Regions from separate parts of the Homo sapiens genome. Here region 1 is linked to region 2. Evidence: promoter capture Hi-C in human tissues and cell types (Jung and others, 2019). All regions are on one chromosome and are shown on one strand. The core of a region is centred on a gene start or on the middle of the fragment in contact, and the rest is flanking DNA. Distances in the headings are between cores, read along the strand shown. Region 1 holds the start of FTL (ferritin light chain). Region 2 holds the start of FUT2 (fucosyltransferase 2 (H blood group)).

What was found. The method cuts DNA at HindIII sites, captures the fragments that hold promoters and counts their contacts. A contact is called where the count stands out against the background at its distance.
Region 1: a contact is called between the fragment with the promoter of FTL here and the fragment with the promoter of FUT2 in region 2, in 5 of the 25 tissues and cell types used here (IMR-90 fibroblasts, dorsolateral prefrontal cortex, heart right ventricle and 2 more).

Annotation. Positions count from the first base shown.
Region 1 is chr19:48,962,538-48,968,429 of GRCh38, forward strand. It overlaps FTL (ferritin light chain), which reads left to right and starts at 2,772. Exons shown (of 4, transcript NM_000146.4): 1 at 2,772-3,072; 2 at 3,233-3,379; 3 at 3,744-3,869; 4 at 4,046-4,342. The coding sequence starts at 2,971. The coding sequence ends at 4,198. It overlaps GYS1 (glycogen synthase 1), which reads right to left. Exons shown (of 16, transcript NM_002103.5): 16 at 5,593-5,892. RefSeq lists cis regulatory regions at 1-231, 1,171-1,671, enhancers at 1,353-1,462, 3,012-3,061, 5,792-5,892 and a silencer at 2,602-2,761. The HindIII fragment of the contact is 5,012 bases long and covers 1-4,841 here.
Region 2 is chr19:48,691,676-48,697,419 of GRCh38, forward strand. FUT2 (fucosyltransferase 2 (H blood group)) reads left to right here and starts at 4,296. Exons shown (of 2, transcript NM_000511.6): 1 at 4,296-4,414. RefSeq lists enhancers at 3,567-4,130, 4,695-5,258. The HindIII fragment of the contact is 31,324 bases long and covers 1-5,744 here.

The DNA.
Region 1 (5,892 bases), core at 1,522-4,021, 270 kb after region 2:
AAGAAGGTGCTGAGCTCAGAGGCCCAGTGACCTTAGACACAGGCGGAGCGAAGACAAGGGGGCTAGAGGATGTGGGTTCTCAGTCACAGGGTCTCTGGCACCCCCCTCTGGGTCTTTACCCCCTCCCATCTCTGGGTCTCTGTCCCCATGCTCTGGGTCTTTGCTTTCCGAGCCTCTGTTCCCACCCCACCTTTGGCCCTCTTTCTCTGGGCCTCTTTCCACCCCTGGCACCCAGACCTCTGGCCCCCTCTCTCTGGGTCTCTGTCCCCCCCTCTGGATCTCTGGCCCCCCATCTCTCTCTGGGTCTGTCCCCCGACCCTGAGTTTCTGTCTCCCTCTCTCTGGGTCTCTGTCCTCTCTCTGGCTGTCACTCTCTCTTGGGTCTCTGTACCTCCCCTCTCTCTGGGTCTCTTTCCCTCTCCCCGGTCTCTGTCCCCCGCCCCCGGGTCCCTGTCCCCGCCCCCCCAGGTCTCAGTCCTCCCTAGTCTCTGTCCCCTTCTCTCTGAGTCCCTGTCCCCCCTCTCTCTGGGTCTCTGTACCCCCTTCTCTGGATCTCTGTCCCCACCTCTCTCTGGATCTCTGTCCCCCACTCTGGATTTCTGTCCCCTCCCGCCGGGTCCCTCTGGGTCTCTATCCCCCCCACCCCTGGGTCTCTGTACCTCCCTGCCTCTGTCCCCCCCCACCTCTGTCCCCCCCTCTCTCTGGGTCTCTTTTCCCCTCCCTCTGGGTCTCTGCCCTCCTCTCTCTAGGTCTGTCCCCCTCCCCTCTCTCTCAGGGTCTCTGTACCCCTCTGTCTCCGGGTCTGTTTTCCCCTCTCTCTGGGTCTCTGTCCCCCTCTCTCTCAGGGTCTCTGTCTGAGTCTCTTTTTCTCTGGGCCTCTGTCTCCCCACCCCACGTTCTCTATGGTCTTCAGATCCTGTCTCTCTCAGCCCCTCCTCTCCCTCCACCTATGGGCCCCAAGGCCCCTCTCGGCCGACTAAAGGTCTCTGGGCTGAGGTATGACATTTGGTAAATGAGTAACTCGGGCCCCACAGTCAACGGGGTGCTTTGGACGGCTGCCCCTCCTCCATGGACTCTTCCCAGAGACCCCAAGTCAGGGGAGAGAGAGGGGCAGAGGATCAATGAGTGTACACTGAGCCACCACCCAGAGTGAGGGGACAATATGGCCACAGGCAGGATCCCAGAAAAAAAAAAATTATGGGAACCAAAAAGACACGGAGACAAAGCACACAGCCGGCTTCCAACAAGGGGGGACCTTGGGGTAGGGGGCCCGATTTGGGTCTGAGCCAGGTCTAGTTCTGAGGGTCCCACCAAAAAAGTCGGGGAGTGCCAAGGGGATGAGGTCAGCGAGTGGCCCCACCCCCATCCGTCCCCGCGGGGGCCCCTTCCCGCGCTGAGCTCAGCATGACTCAGCAGTCGCTGCCTGCAACAAGGACCCCAGATACCGGCCTGGCGGGGCATCTGCAGATCCCCTCGGTCAGGGGCTGCCCCGCCTGGGCTGTTCGGAGCAGCTCCTCTGTAGGGCAGGGCCTGACCTCACCCCACACCCCAGTGGCTTCAGCTCCCTGCCCAGCGCACGGGCTGCCTCCATCAGGGCACTTAAGTAGAGTCAAGGTTTGCGCCGACTCCGTCTCCCAGAAATCAACGTGGACCAGGCCCACTTAAAAAATATGCATTAGTCGAAGACAGACGTCTCGTCCATAGGTCCCCAGACTGTTTGTCCACAACGCAGGGCTTCTCTTTGTGGGCCTGAAGGAGCACACGTCAGGCAAGACACGAGGGCAACTTCAGAGACACTGTTCAGGGCCACGGAGAATTCTCGAAGTCTGTGAGTTGTCTCCAAAACAGCCTCCAGGAAATGCAATCCCAGAGACACCGCAAAGCTCAAAACAGACTTTTCATTCCTCCCCATTTCCACTCCCAGAAAAAGCCTGGGCCCCTGAAAGAGCTCCAAGGTATCCCCAAAGTCCCAGCCCATCTTTGGAGGGTTCCAGAGGGCTGTCCAGGGTTCCAGAAGTCACCCTACCTCATACAATGCTCCTCCTGGGCTTCCCGCACTGGGTGAAACCCACGGCTCCAGAATAACTGCCCTTTCCAACTTGCAGAGCACCTCAAGAACCTAAAGATTTCCCCGGGGAGGGCTCCAAAATATAGAGAGTTTGCATCGTGAACCCCCACCCCTGTAAATCCCAGGACTCCAGTCCCCGCAACACTCCATCTTCCAGAGATCTCCAGGGGTCCAGAAATAACACCTCACAGCCTTCCAAGCTTCCCAAGGATCCGGAGACTCCTTATCTCGCAGCGCAAACCTCAGGCAACTACAGGTCCTCCCTGCACCTTTGAGGTGCCCCTCCCCCCACTCAAGGTTCCAGAAAAATCCATGCCCTCGGAAACCCCAGAATCTTACTTTCCCGAGGCACCCCAGGACCCCAGGGTCATCAGTTCACAGGGCTGTTAGTGCTCCCATAAAACTCTAGCCTCCCAGAGGGACCCCAGCCCCCACCCTCCCGCCCACGAACCCCTGCATTTCCAGAATCAGCCCCAGGGCCCCAACCCCCCCAAGCCCCCATTTCACAACACGCTGGCGCTACAGGCGCGTGACTTCCCCTTGCTTTGGGGCGGGGGGCTGAGACTCCTATGTGCTCCGGATTGGTCAGGCACGGCCTTCGGCCCCGCCTCCTGCCACCGCAGATTGGCCGCTAGCCCTCCCCGAGCGCCCTGCCTCCGAGGGCCGGCGCACCATAAAAGAAGCCGCCCTAGCCACGTCCCCTCGCAGTTCGGCGGTCCCGCGGGTCTGTCTCTTGCTTCAACAGTGTTTGGACGGAACAGATCCGGGGACTCTCTTCCAGCCTCCGACCGCCCTCCGATTTCCTCTCCGCTTGCAACCTCCGGGACCATCTTCTCGGCCATCTCCTGCTTCTGGGACCTGCCAGCACCGTTTTTGTGGTTAGCTCCTTCTTGCCAACCAACCATGAGCTCCCAGATTCGTCAGAATTATTCCACCGACGTGGAGGCAGCCGTCAACAGCCTGGTCAATTTGTACCTGCAGGCCTCCTACACCTACCTCTCTCTGGTGAGTCCCCAGGACGCCCCTGGCCCTAATTTCCTCCAGCTGCGCACCTCCGGCCCTCACTGCACGCGCCAGCCTTCTTTGTGCGGTCGGGTAAACAGAGGGCGGAGTCCCCTTGGCCTCGCCTCCCGCTAACCATTGTTGCCTCCATCTCTTCCCGTAGGGCTTCTATTTCGACCGCGATGATGTGGCTCTGGAAGGCGTGAGCCACTTCTTCCGCGAATTGGCCGAGGAGAAGCGCGAGGGCTACGAGCGTCTCCTGAAGATGCAAAACCAGCGTGGCGGCCGCGCTCTCTTCCAGGACATCAAGGTAACTAGTGTGTGGGTAATGGACTACATCTCCCAGCAGGCCGTGCGCGCGAGGAGCCTTGATTTGAGGGCGTAGGTGTCGCGTGGGCTTCTGGGAGATTGAGTTCGGTCTTGTGAGCCCTCTTAACCGCTGGAAATAGAGGCGCACCTCGTGCAGTGCCCACAACACGCGGCAGTCCACACCGCTGCGTGGTCTTAGGGACGTATAGCTGTAAGAGCTAGGACAGGGTGCGGAGAGTGATAAATACAAGCTGTCACATGTCTTTGTGGCCTGGGCCTCTGACCCCCAACGACTCTTGGGAAATGTAGGTTTAGTTCTATGTGCCGAGTGTGTGTATTCTGAGCCATTTCTCCCTTCTATATAGAAGCCAGCTGAAGATGAGTGGGGTAAAACCCCAGACGCCATGAAAGCTGCCATGGCCCTGGAGAAAAAGCTGAACCAGGCCCTTTTGGATCTTCATGCCCTGGGTTCTGCCCGCACGGACCCCCATGTACGTACCCGCTGCATCCATGGCTACCCAACCATACCCCTCAAGCCTCTGCTCCCTTTGGGCAAATTTCCTTCAGAGCCTCATTTCACACCTGTCACATTTTAATCTGCAACTGGCTGCTCTCTCCCCCTCTTTTCCAGGGATTGGGTTTCTAATTTCTCCCTCTTCTCTCTCAGCTCTGTGACTTCCTGGAGACTCACTTCCTAGATGAGGAAGTGAAGCTTATCAAGAAGATGGGTGACCACCTGACCAACCTCCACAGGCTGGGTGGCCCGGAGGCTGGGCTGGGCGAGTATCTCTTCGAAAGGCTCACTCTCAAGCACGACTAAGAGCCTTCTGAGCCCAGCGACTTCTGAAGGGCCCCTTGCAAAGTAATAGGGCTTCTGCCTAAGCCTCTCCCTCCAGCCAATAGGCAGCTTTCTTAACTATCCTAACAAGCCTTGGACCAAATGGAAATAAAGCTTTTTGATGCAGCTGGTGGTTTTGTGTGTGGTGTGGAAGATGAGGTGGGATCTGTTCTCATAAAGCTTCTGGCTGGGTTGGGATGCCAGTGAAAGAGGAGTTGGCCCCATCTCCCATTTTCTTAACTGTCCTAAGACAAGAGGCTATCTGGGTAGTGTTGAACCTGAGGGTTCTCTGCTTGCCTGGCTGTTAACTGTCCCTCCCAGATGGTAGAGATAGACTCCAGGGAGTTGAATTAAGACCTAGGTTGGTATCTAGAAACAGATGTTAGGTCTCAGCCAGAAACAGCCCTATTTAACGAGTGATTATGGGGCCAGGTGGGTCGCTCACCTGATGTCAGGAGTTCGAGACCAGCCTGACCAACATGAAGAAACCCCGTCTCTACTAAAATACAAAATTAGCTGGGTGTGGTGGCTCATACCTGTAATCCCAGCTAGTCAGGAGGTTGAGGTAGGAGAATCGCTTGAATCTGGGAGGCGGAGGTTGCAGTGAGCTGAGATGGCGTCATTGCACTCCAGCCTGGGCAAAAAGAGTGGAACTCCCATCTCAAACAAAAAACATGTCTGCCTCACGGAAGTTGCGGTGAGCTGAGATGGCGCCACTGTGCTCCAGCTTGGGCAACAGAGTAAGACTCTGTCTCAAAAAAGAAAAAAGCCTCAATTCTGGGAGGCAGTTGGAATTATTAGGCCCTTTATATGGGCACATTGACGCTATTGCTATGCAACTTGCATGGCAACCGGGGGGCTCACTGAGGTCTTTGCTCCAGAGTTTAAGAGATTATGGCCCGAGCTTGAGTGATCCCAATGTGAGGCGCACACTGAGAGGAACTGGCCAGTGGAGCTGAGCAGCCAGGAACACGTGATGCCCAAGCAATGCTGGACAAGGGGTTTAGGGTTCATCACAGAAATGGGATGTGAAACCTTGGGCCGGATTCTCCAAATGGGAACTGAAGAAGCTTAAAACAGGCCTTAAAAAGCACTTGCTGTGTCCAAGCTGCAAAACTGCTGTGTCAGCTCTGACTCTTCCCCTTCTCCTTCCCCTGGGTCTGGGGCAGGGTGGTTCAAGCCTGTAATCCCAGCACTTTGGGAGGCCAAGGCAGGACGATCACTTGAGCCCAGGAGGTTGAGACCAGCCTAAGCAACATAGGGAGACCCCCCAAGTCTCTCTAGAATAAGAGGATGAGCTCAGACCAGGGAAGGGGTGGTACTGGGGGGACGTCACAGCCAGGCCCACCAAGTGTCATGTCTGACCACACCTGGGATTCTTAAATATAGATGTATTTTTTTCATCTCATCTCCGGACACACTCCAATCACACCCCTCCTGCCCTCCCCTCTCAACTGCAAACCAAGCGGTGCAGACACAGCACAGCACACATGAGGGGCCCTCCCTTTCACCAAAGCTGAAGGCAGGGCACAGTTTGGGGATGGAAGAGCCTCGAGGTAAATGTGGGGGTTCTAGAACCCAGTGACCTCAGTTCTGGATCATGGGAAAGGGATCAGTATGCAGTAACGTGGTAAGGTTCCAGATCTAGAAGCCAGGACCTAGAACCTAGTGGTTTC
Region 2 (5,744 bases), core at 3,046-5,545:
CACCCTGTCACCCAGGCTGGAGTGCAATGGCACGATATTGGCTCAGTGCAACCTCTGCCTCCCAGGTTCAAGCAATTCTGCTTCAGCCTCCCGAGTAGCTGGGATTACAGGCACAGCCACCATGCCCGGCTAATTTTTTGTATCTAGTAGAGACAGGATTTCACCAGGGTTGGCCAGGCTGTTCTCAAACTCCTGACCTCATGATCAGCCCGCCACCCTCTCAAAGTGCTGGGATTACAGGTGTGAGCCACTGCACCTAATCTAATCTTTTATAACTGTCAATCTAATCTTATAACTGTATGTTAGCCTTTGTATGCAAAATGCTGTCATTCTGCTCACGATCTCCATTTTTTGTTGTTGTTGTTGTTGGTTTTTTGTTTGTTTTGTTTGTTTGTTTGTTTTAGACAGAGTCTTGCTCTTTTGCCCAGGCTGGAGTGCAGTGGTGCGATCTCGGAACACTGAAACCTCCACCCCACCCCGCCTCTGCCTCCCAGGTTCAAGCAATTCTTCTGCCTCAGCCTCCCAGGTAGCTGAGATTACAGGTGCTCACCACCACACAGCCAGCTAATTTTTGTATTTTTTTTTTTTTAGTAGAGACAGGGCTTCACTATGTTGACCAGGCTGGTCTCAAACTCGTGACCTCAAACGATCTACCTGCCTTGGCCTCCCAAAGTGCTGGGATTACAGGCATTAGCCACTGCGTTTGACCTCTCCATTTTTACCTGTATAAATGAGTTCCACTTTTCCCCATACTGGAAGCACTGATCACCATTCTTCGGTGTCCTTGTGTCCCTGGACAGCCACCCTCACACACTTGTGTTTAAAAAAACTTTTCTTATTTTTTTCTTGAGATGGAGTCTCGTTCTGTCACCCAGGCTGGAGTGCAGTGGCGTGATCTCAGCTCACTGCAACCTCCACCTCCCAGGTTCAAGCAATTCTCATGCCTCAGCTTCCCGAGTAGCTGGGACTACAGGTGTGCACCACCACACCCAGGTAATTTTTGTATTTTTAGTAGAGACTGGGTTACAGCATGTTAGCCAGGCTGGTCTCGAACTCCCGGTCTCAAGCAATCTGCCTGCCTCAGCTTCCCAAAGTGCTGAGATTACAGGCGTGAACAACTGTGCCCAGATTTATTTTTTAATTTTTCAGAGGCAGGGTCTTTCTCTGTCACTCAGGCTGGAGTGCAGCGTCAGGATCATAGCTGACGCTGGACCTCCTGGGCTCCTCTTGCCTCAGCCTCTCAAGTAGCTGGGACTACAGACATGTGCCACCATGTCTGGCTAATTTTCTTTATTTTTTGTAGAGAGACAAGGTCTTGCTATGTTGCCCAGGCTGGTCTTTAACTTCTGGCTTCAAGCTATGCTCCTGCCTCAGCCTCCTGAGTAGCTGAGATTACAGGTGCATGCCTCCATGCCTGGCCACCACGGCCAATTTCAAGCTACCAATATGAGATCATTGAACATGCAATTGGAAAGAAATGCACAGTATTACATTGTTCTATAGCAAGCCTATTACACAGACATAATAAATGTAAATAGGCCAGGCAAGATGGTTCATACCTGTAATCCCAGCACTTTGGGAGGCTGAGGCAGGAGGATCGCTTTGAGCTCAGGAGTTCGAGGCCAGCCTGGGTAACATAGTGAGACCCCATCTCTACAAAAAAACACAAAATTAACTGAGTGTGGTGACGGGCACCTGTAGTCCCAGCTACTCAGGAGGCCAAGGCAGGAGACTCATTTGAGCCCAGGAGGCGGAGGTTGCAGTGAGCACATACATTGATTGGCACACAGATTGGCAGATACTAACATACAGTGTGTTTTTTTCTCCAGAGAACTGGCTGGTAAGTGTTTACCATAGTAAGAAGACTTACTATAGAACAATGTATTACTGTGCGTTTCTTTCCAATTCCATGTTCAATGATCTCTTATTGGTAGCTTGAAATTGGCCGTGGTGGCCAAGCATGGGGGCGTGCACCAGTAAGGGAAAGCTGAAATGGAAAACAGAGGGTTTAGGGCAACAGTCCTGAATTCCGGAGTGCTGTCCCCCTGGGGGAGTTATGGGAATCTGTGGGGGTTGTTTTTAGTTGTCACAGTGGAGGTCCTAGGATGCTACCACAGCGTTTACGCGGCTGGGGTCAGCGACAATAAAAGTTACGCAATGAAGGTTTGTCCTGCATTCTCAGGACTTTGTTTTATTTTTGAGACAGAGTCTTGCTCTGTCACCCAGGCTGGAGTGCAGTGGTACCATCTCGGCTCACTGCAACCTCTGCCTCCCAGGTTCAAGGAATTCTCCTCCCCTAGCCTCCTGAGTAGCTGGGATTACAGGCGTGCACCACCATGCCCAGCTAATTTTGTATTTTTAGTAGAGATGGAGTTTCACTAAAAAAAAATGTTGGCTAGGCTGGTCTCAAACTCCTGACCTCAGGTGATCCTCCTGCCTCGGCCTCCCAAAGTGCTGGGATTGCAGGCATGAGCCACTGCGCCCAGGTCATTCCCATGACTTTGGAACATCTGTGGGACATTCATGGAGTTGGAAAGTCTAAGCCTCTGAGCCCCAAATCTGTTTTGCGTTTTTTTTTTTTTTTTTTTTTTGAGAGGGAGTCTTGCTCTGTCGCCCAGGCTGGAGTGCAGTGGTGTGACCTCGGCTCACTGCAAGCTCCGCCCCCGGGGTTCACGCCATTCTCCTGCCTCAGCCTCCCAAGTAGCTGGGACTACAGGCACCCACCACCACGCCCGGCTAATTTTTTTTTTATATATATTTTTAGTAGAGACGGGGTTTCACTGTATTAGCCAGGATGGTCTCAATCTCCTGACCTCGTGATCCGCCCGACTCAGCCTCCCAAAGTGCTGGGATTACAGGCGTGAGCCACCACACCTGGCCTGTTTTGCATATTTTATGACAGCTCACCTCCCCACTTCCCCGCCCCACCCTGTTTCTTTTTTCCTTGTCGCTGAATCACAGGGAAACAGGTCGTTTGTCCTGTGGACGGGCTCACATTCTGGACTGGGCTGATTGCTGCCTCATGGTGTCGTTTCACTGGGAACTTTGTCCTCCTGTTTTCTGCAAACTGGTGGTTAGAGTGGGAAGCTTGATCTGATTTTTTTGTTTGTTTGTTTGAAGGGAGCTCCGTAGCTGGTAGGTAGCCTCCTGCTGCTTAGCTGAAGCTGGGGAGTGGCTGCTGGTTTCTCTTTCCTCCTGTTAGGACTGCTGGGAGCTCTGGTGGTGCCTGCCTCTTCTCTCAGTAAAATTCCTCATCCATCTTTTTTTTTTTTGAGACAGAGTTTTGCTCTTGTTTCCCAGGCTGGAGTGCAATGGTGTAATCTCAGTTTACTGCAACCTCCGCCTCCCAAGTTCAAGCGATTCTCCTGCCTCAGCCTCCCAAGTAGCTGGGATTACAGGTGCATGCCACCACGCCCCACTGATTTTTGCATTTTTAGTAGAGACAGGGTTTCACCATGTTGGCCAGACTGGTCTCAAACTCCTGACCTCAGGTGATCCACCTGCCTCGGCCTCCCAAAGTGCTGGGATTACAGGCATGAGCCACTGTGCTGGGCCATGGCTAATTTCTGTATTCTTATAAGGACGGGGTTTCACCTTGTTGGCCAGGCTGGTCTCTGACTCCTGACCTCAGTTGATCCGCCTGCCTCGGCCTCCCAAAGTGCTAGAATTACAGGTGTGAGTCACCACACCGGGCCCATTTGTATTTAAAAATTTTTTTGAAATAGGCAGGGCGAGGTGGCTCACGTCTGTAATCCCAGCACTTTGGGAAGCTGAGGCAGGAGAATCCCTTGAACTTGTGAGGCGGCGGTTGCAGTGAGCTGAGATCACGCCATTGCACTCCAGCCTGGGCAACAAGAGCAAAACTCTCTCAAAAAGTAATACTACTAATAATTAATTAATAAATAAATATAAGACTCTGAGGGGACTCAGAGTCAGCGAGAGCCTGGCCTAGCAGGACTCTGTCCCCCGCCTCCATGCTGCCTTCCTGGAGGCCTTCCTGGCTGCCTGGAGGAGCGGAGCAGAGTGGGGGCCCCTTTCTGTTGGGGCATCACAACAGTTCCCCAAGGAAGACCCTCGGGGACCCGGATGGGGGATGCGACCTTGTCCTGCCTCTCTCCCCCACCCTTATGGCCAGGCTTGGGGTGCCTGGTGCAGGTGGAGGAGCTAAGGGTAGATAACAAGATGGACTTTGTGGCCGGCAATGGGGAGGGAGGAGGGGCTACGGGCTCACCTCCCTCCCGCAGCCCAGCCACACCTGCTCTGGAAAGCCCTGTAGCTCCTGGGCGGGGTTTGCCAGTCACCGATGCTGGAAGGGTTTCTTTGGCCCTGAGTGAAGAGAGACCCAGAGGGAACACTGAGGTGCCTGCCCAACCACTCTGTCCCGGTTTCCTTCAGCAGGACCAGGTGAGAGAAGGTGAGGGGGCTCCTCTCCCACCCTACAACACGCACACCTCTGCACACACGCCCAGGCGGAGAGCAGGGATTTGGGACGTGGACCTGTGTGCCCTCGTGGGTCCCTGGTGCCCTCTGGGAGGCACCCCCAACTCAGGACCTCCAGGAGAGGAGGGTCCCTCCCTCGGCAGCCAGGACCCCCCTCCCCAGCCAGCCGCCCTCCTTAGCTCCCTCCCCACTTCCTTCCAGGTGGATCTGTTTCTAGAGCTCCAACCACCAGCTCCCTCCCCTTCTCCACCCCGGGCCACCAGGTCCTTCCTTGTCTCCTTCCCCTCAGCAGTTTCTATGAACCACCCTGGCAGTAATGGTGCAGATGGCTCGCGCACAGCTGGTGGTGACCCGACTTTCCTGCCTCCACCCTGGGGCTCCTCAGAGGCTTCATGGAACCCAAACTGCTGGTCTCACCTCCGAGCCCTGCCGTCGCCCAGGGAGGGCGGCTCCGTCCCTCCTGCACTCCCTAATCCCGCTCTGAATCACCGCTTCTGTTCTGGGTCGGAGAATAAAGGTGGGGTTTCCAAGTGATGGCCCTACGTTATTGTCTGAAGCTCCCTTCTCCTCCCCAGGGTGGAAGTGATAATGCCGGGAATCCGGGAATCCCGGGGAGGTGCAGGAAGACAGCGAGCTCGAGGCAGTGGGGTGCGACTGAGCCGGATGTGCTGAGCTGCCCGGGGCACGGGGCGGTTGGGGTAGAGAAAGGCTTTCAGAGCTGGGGGACAGGACGGGGCCCCGGGTGAGCGGAGAGCTGGGTTATTTCACGGGAACAGCTGGTGACAAAGCCGGAGGGGTGTGCGGGGCCGGCGAGAGACTGGGATTGTGTCTTAAGAGGCATAGGGAGCCCTGAAGGGGCTGCGAGCTGGGAAGGGGCAGGGCCGGCGCTGGGTGTAGGGGACAGAGGGGAGAGGAGGAAGCCGGGCCGCAATAGAAAGACGTGGACGGGGCTGGACGTGGTGGCTGACGCCTGTAATCCCAGCACTTTGGGAGGCCGAGACAGGCGGATCACTTGAGGTCAGGAGTTCGAGACCAGTCTGGCCAACATGGAGAAACCCCGTCTCTACTAAAAATACAAAATTAGCCAGGCGTGGTGGTGCATGCCTGTAATCCCAGCTACTCGGGAGGCTGAGGCAGGAGAATCGTTTGAACCCGGGAGGCGGAGGTTGTGGTGAGCCGAGATTGTGCCATTGCACTCCAGCCTGGGGAACAAGAGCAAAACTCCGTCTCAAAAAAAAAAAAAAAAAAAAAAATCTCAGTAAGATAGACCAGGTGTGGTGTCTCATGCCTGTAATCCCAGCACT